Regions from separate parts of the Homo sapiens genome. Here all the other regions are linked to region 1. The links are contacts of gene promoters, found by promoter capture Hi-C in blood cells and fetal thymus (Javierre and others, 2016). All regions are on one chromosome and are shown on one strand. The core of a region is centred on a gene start or on the middle of the fragment in contact, and the rest is flanking DNA. Distances in the headings are between cores, read along the strand shown. Region 1 holds the start of PGK2 (phosphoglycerate kinase 2). Region 2 has its middle 43 kb from the start of C6orf141. Region 3 has its middle 5.8 kb from the start of C6orf141.

What was found. Contacts are between HindIII fragments. The CHiCAGO score rates a contact against its expected background, and 5 or more counts as called.
Region 2: a contact is called between a fragment that was not itself captured here and the fragment with the promoter of PGK2 in region 1, in 1 of 17 cell types (erythroblasts). The highest score is 5.6, in erythroblasts.
Region 3: a fragment that was not itself captured here is called in contact with the fragment with the promoter of PGK2 in region 1 in 1 of 17 cell types (megakaryocytes); the score reaches 5.5 in megakaryocytes.

What each region holds. Positions count from the first base shown.
Region 1 is chr6:49,785,868-49,788,879 of GRCh38, forward strand. PGK2 (phosphoglycerate kinase 2) reads right to left here and starts at 1,418. Exons shown (of 1, transcript NM_138733.5): 1 at 1-1,418. The coding sequence starts at 1,320. The coding sequence ends at 67. The HindIII fragment of the contact is 4,736 bases long and covers 1-3,012 here.
Region 2 is chr6:49,591,926-49,595,148 of GRCh38, forward strand. No RefSeq gene overlaps it. Among named protein-coding and RNA genes, the nearest start is that of C6orf141, 43 kb to the left of the region's middle. The HindIII fragment of the contact is 6,483 bases long and covers 1-3,223 here.
Region 3 is chr6:49,554,818-49,558,167 of GRCh38, forward strand. It overlaps a transcript of C6orf141 not described here. Among named protein-coding and RNA genes, the nearest start is that of C6orf141, 5.8 kb to the left of the region's middle. The HindIII fragment of the contact is 1,015 bases long and covers 1,594-2,608 here.

The sequences.
Region 1 (3,012 bases), core at 168-2,667:
ATGTAAAAGCATTAAGCTGACTTAAGGGCCATGGACAGAAAACAGAAGGAAGTAACACTATATTAACTACATGTTGCTGAGGGCCTCTACTCCAGGAAGGATTTTACCTTCCAGAAGCTCTAGACTGGCACCGCCTCCAGTGCTGACATGGCTGACTTTATCTTCAGTGTTCCATTTGGCACAGCAAGTAGCAGTGTCTCCACCCCCTATAACAGTGATGCAGCCCTTGGAAGTGGCTTTCACAATTTCATCCATGAGGGCTTTGGTTCCCTTAGCAAAGGCATCCCATTCAAATACTCCTAACGGCCCATTCCAAACAATTAGCCTTGCTTGAGCCACAACTTGAGCATGATTCTTGTTGCTCTCAGGACCACAGTCCAAACCCATCCAGCCAGGAGATATGCCAGATGCTACAGTGGCTTTTCCAACCTGAGCGTTCTCGTCAAACTTGTCCCCAGTAACAAAATCAACAGGAAAAGTAATCCTTACACCATTCTTTTGTGCTTTGGCCATGATATCTTTAACGATCTTGGCTCCCTCTTCATCAAACAGGGAAGCACCAATCTCCATGTTGTTGAGTACCTTAAGGAAGGTATAAGCCATTCCACCACCAATAATCATCTCATTGACTTTGTCCAGCATATTTTTGATAAGTTGGATCTTGTCTGCCACTTTGGCTCCACCAAGTATAGCCAGAAAGGGTCTCACTGGGTTTTCCAAGGCTTTAGCAAAGTAATCTAGTTCCTTCTTCATCAAGAATCCGGATGCTTTATGGGGCAGATTCACTCCCACCATGGAACTATGAGCGCGGTGTGCAGTGCCAAAAGCATCATTGACATAGACGTCCCCTAGCTTGGAAAGTGATGCTCGGAAGGCTTCTATTTTATCTGGCTCAGCTTTAATCTTCTTTCCAGAGGGATCTTGGCCCTTCCCTTCTTCCTCCACATGAAAGCGCAGGTTCTCCAGCAGGATGACTGAACCAGGAGCTGGGTTGGCACAGGCTTTCTCCACTTCTGCGCCTACACAGTCCTTCAGGAACAGAACATCCTTGCCCAGCAAGGATTTGAGCTCAACAGCAACAGGTGCTAAGGAATATTTGTCAGGCATGGGAACACCATCAGGCCGACCTAGATGACTCATAAGAACTACTGCCTTGGCTCCATTGTCCAGGCAGTACTTGATGCTTGGGATGGAAGCCTTGATCCTCTGGTTGTTTGTAATCTGGTTCTTCTTCATGGGAACATTGAAGTCTACTCTCATGATGACTCGCTTCCCTCTAACATCCAGTTTGTCTAAAGTCAACTTCTTAGAAAGAGACATCTTGACAATATAAAGACATAGGCTGACACCTGGATCTTAATGCTGAAGAACCAACTTGCTGTTGAGGGGCTGGGTCGGTGGTGACTTCTAACGCCTTTGCCCTTGTCCCGCCCCTTTCTTCTCCTCACTGTCTCCAGCACAACGGCCACTGTTAGACTGGAAAGCAAATCTAGCTTTGTGATTGGCTCATGGTCCTGTCAATCTCGATCTGAACTGTGTTGCTAGGTGAAGATTCCAACTTCCTGGGCAGAGGGTCATGTAGTGGAATAGAGCTGTACCTGGCTTCAGGCGAGACTTGGGTAGGTGAAGAAACCCCAGAATAAGAATGGTTCTAAAAAAACAAGAATAGTCCTGAGGTGTGCGCCGCCTTCTGGCTCTTTTTGCCCCCACCCCACAGCTCGGTTAACAGTTGCTTTTATTATTAAAAACAAAACAAAAAGAACTCCACCCCCACCCCCGCAAACCTACATACACCTCATTCATGTCAAATCTTAACCATTTTGATATGTAAAAACCTCTGCAGTGCCAAATAAAAGGAATATTTGAAATAATGATTTTCATATGAAACCTTGCTTATTCAAGTCAGGATAGTATAGTTCTGTTTTTTCCTTGTCTTGATAAATATTTCTTTGAGGATGTGGCTTGTTGTTAGTCTTCATCTTTAGATCTATTCTGGGACGTGGTGGGAATGCTGTCATATTTTCATTACTTTGCTTCTTCCATTTTCAGACTACCATGAAAGAATGTTTGGTCACTTCTGCAGGAGAATCCCATAAGATCATAGCAAAGAGAGTATCAGTAACAAGTGCTGAAAGTAATGGTGACATTTCTTTCAGACTACAATGTTATGATGAGGCTCCTTATTTTTTGTCTCCTCTCTGTTTGCTTTCCTACCTGTACAACTTAGAAATTGAGCTGAAAAATAAATGCATGGTTTTCATGAAGATGAAAACATATATTAGAATTGAAAGTGAGTAAGATATTCTATTTTTGGAGAAAGCAAATGTATGTGGCTAGTTGGTTTAGTAATGAAAATTGGCTTTACAGTTTTTTTCATTCTACTCCATAAGTTGAGTGAACTAAATATGTAAAATGAAGGCTTTGACAGAAATATATTTGAGGCATCTCCTATTAAGATGGCTAAAATAAAAAATAAAAACAAGTGTTGAGAAAGAAGTGGACAAATTGGAATCCTCATTTATTGCTGATAGGAATGTCTAATGGTGCAGCCACTTTAAAAAACAGTTTATCGGTTCCTCAATGTTGAACATCGAGTCAACAGCATTTAAAAGCAAACTTAAATGGTGTTAAAATATATAGTAACAGAAACTCTCATTTGTTGCTCCCAGGAATGAAATATGCTACAGACATTTTGGGAAACAGCTTGGCAATTTCTTAGAAATATGCATAGACTTACCATACAAGTCATCAATCCTATTTCTAGATATTCATCCAAGGACATCAAAAACCTGTATTCTCTCAAACTTCTGTAAACAAACGTTTAGAGCAGTTTTATTAATAATTACCAAAATTGTATATTCTTCAAGTAATAAATAAATAAACTGTGATATATCCATGCAATGGAATATTATTTTTTAAAAAAAGAAAAGAAACAAGCTATTTACTTACACAAAAGCCCTGGATAAAACTTAAATGTGCCTTACTAACTGAAAGACGCCAGGCAAAAAAATT
Region 2 (3,223 bases), core at 225-2,724, 190 kb before region 1:
CTCTTCCAAAGTAAAATAGAGCTAATTCCATAATGCAAGTCCAGGAAATAGAATTCTCCCAGAGTGATAGTTCACTACTCTTTATTCCTCTGCCCCAAATGGCAACTCTCTTTCTTGCTCTTCCTCTCTCATTTTTTCTTTTAATGAACAATTCGGTTACATAGCCATTGAGTTGGGTAGAACTAGGTAGGTGTCCACACCTGGTGATGAGGGGATGTGATGTTTGAGATCACGACATGTTGGAGCCTGAGCAGTGTGAGGAGTGTGTGCATGTAAAAGGGCTGCTCCCTGGGGAGAATAAGAGCCAAGAGGCGTGAGAAGGGTGACCACAGGGAAGAGTGGTCTGGTGTGCATTGTCATAGCCTTGTGCAGGGTGAAGTGGCATACACACAGGGGAAACCCTGGTTATGGAGCCTGATTGTGGGTGGTGTGGAAGCCATCTGCATGGAGAATGGGGCAACAGTAGCGATAAGAGATTGGCTACATACAGGAGCTTGATCAATTAAGTAATTATAGTAAGGATGATAGGAATCTGATTTGTTGCTGTTGGAGAAAGGAGCTCCAAATACAGAAAATGAGAAAACCAGAATGAATCTTTGAGTGTTGGGTTAGAATTAGACATCTTGTGCAAAATTATAGGTTTTGTTTTTTGGTTTTTTTTTTTTTTTTTTTGAGACAAAGTCTTGCTCTGTCATCTGGCCAGTTGTACAGTGGCATGAACATGGCTCACTGCAACCTCAAACTCTCAGAATCCAGAGATCCTCCCACTTCAGCCTCCTGAGCAGCTGGGACCACAGGCACACCCCACCATGCTTGGCTAATTCATTTATTTTTGTAGAGATGGGGTCTTGTCATGTTGCCCAGGCTGAGCTCAAGCAATCCTCCTGTCTTGGCCTCCCAAAGTATTAGGATTACAGGTGTGAGCCACCATACAGGGCAACAAACCTATGATTTTGGATAGAATCAGTTCTTTTATAACATGACATGCTGATTACTTAAAATTGTTGTGCCATGCAGAATTATACAATAAAACCCACAGGGCTTATGATAAAATAATATTGGAGCACAAAACTCAAATACTTCATTATTGACACACACACAAAAGATTGAAACTTAAAAATGATAGTACAGTTTACACATGTGAAGTGGGTAAGAAGTACATAAATATTATACTAAATATGTCATTTTACCTTGAAAAGGACCTGAAGTTTGATTGTGGAAGTGGGGAACAGAAGAATTGCAACTTATGCAATGGTGGAAGAGGTTTACTTTAAATCAGACAGAAAGCTGTGACATTAGATGAGATGGGTATAGCTCATAGCACATGAGATGAACTGAGGTAATGTAGAGATTTGTGCATGTGTGTATGTGCATATTTTGTGTCCAGGCTTGGTTCAGCTGGATGCAGTTTTCTGTTTTCATCTTGTGTTTCTTGTAAACAAAATAATGCATAAGCAAACACAAAATATATGCTATGCTTAATTTGTTCCTTAATATGTCAATTGTACTGAAACAGATTCACATTTTCCAAACAAGCATTATAGCAGAACTCATTGAATATTAAAATATATAGATAGATATAGAAATAATTGTAGATGCACATATATGCCTTCAGAGACATTTATATTCCCTATCTCTCCAACTGAGAGGGCTGGAGAAAGGCAGCATCCCAATAGCAATGAGCACACATAGCTTGCAGATCTCAGACTATAAATACAACTAAAAGAAATCAGAGGCCAGGTGCGGTGGCTCATGGCTGTAATCCCAGCACTTTGGGAGGCTGAGGCAGGTGGATCATCTGAGGTCAGGAGTTCGAGACCAGCCTGACTAACATGGTGAAATCCTGTCTCTACTAAATACAAAAAATTAGCCAGGCTTGGTGGCGGGTGCCTGTAATCGCAAGTACTCGGCAGGCTGAGACAGGAGAATCGCTTGAACCCGGGAGGTAGAGGTTGCAGTGAGCCGAGATTGCACCATTGCATTCCAGCCTGGGCAACAAGAGCAAAATTTTGTCTCAAAAACAAACAAACAACAAACAAACAAACAAACAAAACAAAAACAAAGAAATTAGGAATTGAGAAAACAGCTAGAACAGGAAAAGGATAAGATGAGCACATCTCAGAAAGACATAGGAACCAGCATGAATAGACTTGCACTGGCAAATCTGGGACAATTTCACCGTCACAACAAATGTTTTTATAATGTATTGTAAATAATTTAATAAAATAAAAAAATCATGAATCTATAGGGATATAAGTTAATAAATGAATGCATTGAAAGATTAAGGAGGAATGGGACATTGACATAGGGATGTGGAAGATTTCATATTGCTTTCACACAAAATAAAATGAATTATAAAGATAAAAACAAGAAACTTTAAAGCAGAGAAACACGCTCTCCATCAATGATTGAAGTGAATAATCATTAATAATGGAACAAGTTCAAAAAGAATTCCACCTGGTAGGATGCAATTCAGTATATAGGCTCACTTTTGTGATATTGCTCTTAAAGTTGTATAACCTAAATCTAATCATGGGGAAACATCAGCAAAACCCAGAGTGGGGACCTTCTATGAAATAACTGCCTACATTCTTCAAAAGTGTCAAGGTCATGAAAGTCAGAGAAACACCAAGGAACTGTTCCAGACTGAAGGACTAAAGAGGCAAGAAACTAGGTATAAAGTGGAATCCTGAACTAGATCATTTTGCTATAATGGAAATCATGAAAACATTTGGCAAAACTTGAATGGGATATCAGGATCCGATGGTTGTTATAGACTGAATTGTGTGTCCCTCCCCATCCTCAAAATAACTCTGCAGAGTAGGTATTATCTCTTTTTATAACTGAATAAAGAGGCTCAGAGAGAAAGTATTTTGTCTAAAGATACTTAAATAGTAAAAGATTAAGAAGGGATTAAATTCAAGGCCAAAAGAAGGGAGAATGACTTTGTTCAAAAGAAGATCTGATATAATTTATATATATATATAAATTATATCATTAAATATATATATATATATATATATTTTTTTTTTTTGAGATGGAGTCTTGCTCTGTTGCCCAGGGTGGAGTGCAATGGCATGATCTCGGCTCACTGCAATCTCTGCCTCCTGGATTCATGTGATTCTCCTGCTTCAGCCTCCTGAGTAGCTGGGATTACAGGTGCATGCCACCACGCCTGGCTAATTTTTGTATTTTTAGTAGAGGAGGGGTATTACCATGATGG
Region 3 (3,350 bases), core at 851-3,350, 230 kb before region 1:
TTCCTTTTCATTGGAAACAAAAAGTAGTAAGTCCAAATACTGTTGAATTTGCTTCACAGGTGTTCCTGATCCAAGCAGAACCCTGTTATTTGAAGAGCCTGAGAAATCTTATCCCGTTTACAAATGTCCTGGGAGTGCATCCAAAGTGAAACTTGGGCATCCTCAATACTAAGAAATCTCTGAGAATGACTGGATCTTGGCTCTTTGATCTTACCTCTACTCCTCTGAAAAACATGATTATCTAAAATTGTGTTAGGTGGATGAACCGCATCAAAGACTTCCAGAAGCCACTCCAGTGACCATAAGATAAATGTCAGAATCGCATAACCCCCAGGATCAGGCAAGTGTTATCCTCTCTTAAAACTCTTTGTTTACAACCATGATCTCCTTTTGGGAATCATTACATTTGACTTACTGCTTATTTTTGTTGGATGTTACCAGTGCTTGGTGATAAAACTTGATGTGGCTCTTTGCTTTGAAAAAGAAAAAAACTTTTTATTAAAAGAAACAGTTGTATACACTGCATAAAAATTGGGAAAATATTATGAAGAAAAAGAAGATATAATAAAGGAAACAAAAATTTACAGATGACCCCAAATCTCTTTTAATATTTGGCAAGTTTCAAGCATGAATTTTTTGTTTTGTTTTGTTTTTGTTTTATAGAGACAGCACCTTGCTATGTTGCCCAGGCTAGTCTTTTTTTTTTTTTGAGACGGAGCCTCGCTCTGTTGCCCAGGCTGGAGTGCAGTGGCGCAATCTTCGCTCACTGCAAGCTCTGCCTCCCGGGTTCATGCCATTCTCCTGCCTCAGCCTCCCGAGCAGCCGGGACTACAGGCGCTCGCCATCACGCCCGGCTAATTTTTTGTATTTTTAGGAGAAATGGGGTTTCACCATGTTAGCCAGGATGGTCTCGATCTCCTGATCTCGTGATCTGTCCACCTCAGCCTCCCAAAGTGCTGTGATTACAGGCGTGAGCCACCGCGCACCTGGCGTGCCCAGGCTAGTATTAAAATCCTGGACTCAAGCAATCCTCCTGCCTTGGCCTCCCAACATGCTGGGCTTATAGGCATCAGCCACCATGCCTGGCCAAGTGTGGTTTTATTTTATTGTATTTTCATGTGAATATACCTACATATATACATACATCTTTCTAAGCATAAACTATATAAAGTAGTATTAATGTAACCTCTGTATATTTTCTGAATATGATCTGTATATAAACAAACATATACTGATGCTACTCAAGATGGGCGTTCTGTGAAACGGCAGCGTGGGCATCTCCAAGAAGGTTTTTAGAAAAGTAGAATCTCAGGCCCCATTCCAGATCTGTTGAATCAGAATTCGCATTTTGTCAAGATCATTGGATGATTCACATTAAAGTTTGAGAAACACTGACATATTCTCATATATTTAGTTCTGTATCCTATTTTGTCACTTACCAAAACTGAAAAGTTTTTTTATTCTGTATTCCCAATTAATTGTTAACAATGCCATGAAGATAATAATTCATAGAGTTTTGAACACAGTTAAAGATTACAGGAAGGTGAAAGATAGAGGATATGAATGGGTAAATTGGCGAAGAGATCTCTATGAAGCTTTATAGTGTCTTTTTTAAAGAGCCTTATTATTTGAAAGTTTGTCCTAATGAACCATTGACTCATCATTGAATTTCAAACTATTTCAGAAATATGGCTATTTTGTTGTCTAGGAATATGAAATAATACATTATAAAAAACTCCTGTAAAGGTGAAAAAGCAGGAAGTCATTAACACATTGCACAATTGCAACTCTGCAGGCTGAGTCAGAACTTGTCAGCCACTTGTGATGAATTGAGAGGGGTGGGGAAAAGGTGGAGCCAGAATTTGAATCAACTGATTCAGATAAGTAAACAAAGGGCTGTGACTCTTGAACACCATGACATCTCTATAACTGCAGTCAGTACTTTGCTCTGTAATTAGGGAGGGCAAATCTGTGAATTTACTTCTCTAGATGAAGATAAAGTCCAGATTACTTTGGAGAGAGTAAGGAGTTATGATTGGTTTTCAGGCATTATGCAGCCAATAGTCACAAACAAAACATTAAGACTTGGTTATCTTCAAAGCAAGGAACTAACCAAATTCAAACTTACATTTCTAACCTTAAAACAGAACAAGAGGCCAAGCACGGTGGCTCACGCCTGTAATCCCAGCACTTTGGGAGGCCAAAGCAGGTGGATCACCTGAGGTCAGGAGTTCAAGACTAGCCTGACCAACATGGAGAAACCCCATCTCTATTAAAAATACAGAATTAGCCGAGGTGATGGTGCATGCCCATAATCCCAGCTACTCAGGAGGCTGAGGCAGGAGAATCACTTGAACCCAGGAGGAGGAGGTTGCAGTGAGCTGAGATCGCGCCATTGCACTCCAGCCTGGGCAACAAGAGCAAAACTCCATCTCAAAATAATAATAATAATTAATAAATAAACAGAACAAGAGTATTTTGAGGAGACTGCAGCCCTCCCCAAAATAGAACAAACAGAGGCTGTGTTTGCAGAGCTTGCTATAATAAGAGAGTCAGCCAACATCATTTGTGCTTGGCAGGAAAGCGAAGGCAGGTAGGGCAATAGGAAAGCTTTGTAGTGGCCAAGATGATCTTACCCATTCCTCAGCTTGACTAAATTTCAGATAAGCTTCTTGACTTAGGTCCCTGACTTTCCTTTTCTTAGAGCATTTACTTTAGAAGACTTTGAATGGTAAATTATTTCTCTGCCCCTTTGAAATGTAAATCTAAGAAAGATCCAGGTATGTCTTTCTTGAGGACCTAGGAGCCATTACTGTGAAGTGTAATCACTGAAAACAAACAAACAAACAAACAAAACTCAGAGGTCTCTAACTATCAGTCTCTGTGGGAGGGTGGAAGCCCAGCTTCTCAAAGTGCCAATCAGCAAACATAGATGGCATAATCACATTGACCAATGTCCCTTTTAACATTGTCTCGTAGTTTTTCTCTAGCTCGCCTTAATGCTTAAAATATTCCCACCTTTTGTTTCAAAGGAATTAAGTTCAATCTCTCTCCCCTAATGCAATAGTTTTTGTTTTTTGTTTGTTTGTTTTTTGAGACAGTCTCACTGTGTTGTCCAGGCTGGAGGGCAGAGGCGCAATCTTGACTTACTGCAACCTCCGCCTCCCGGGTTCAAGTGATTTTCCTGCCTGAGCCTCCTGAGTAGCTGAGACTACAAGTGCATGCCGTTACACTCAAATATGTTTTTTTTTTTTTTTTTTTTTTTTAGTAGAGACGGGTTTTGGGCATGTTGGCCAGGCTGGTCTCAAACTTCTGGCCTCAATGATCCACTTGCCTTGGCCTCCCAAAGT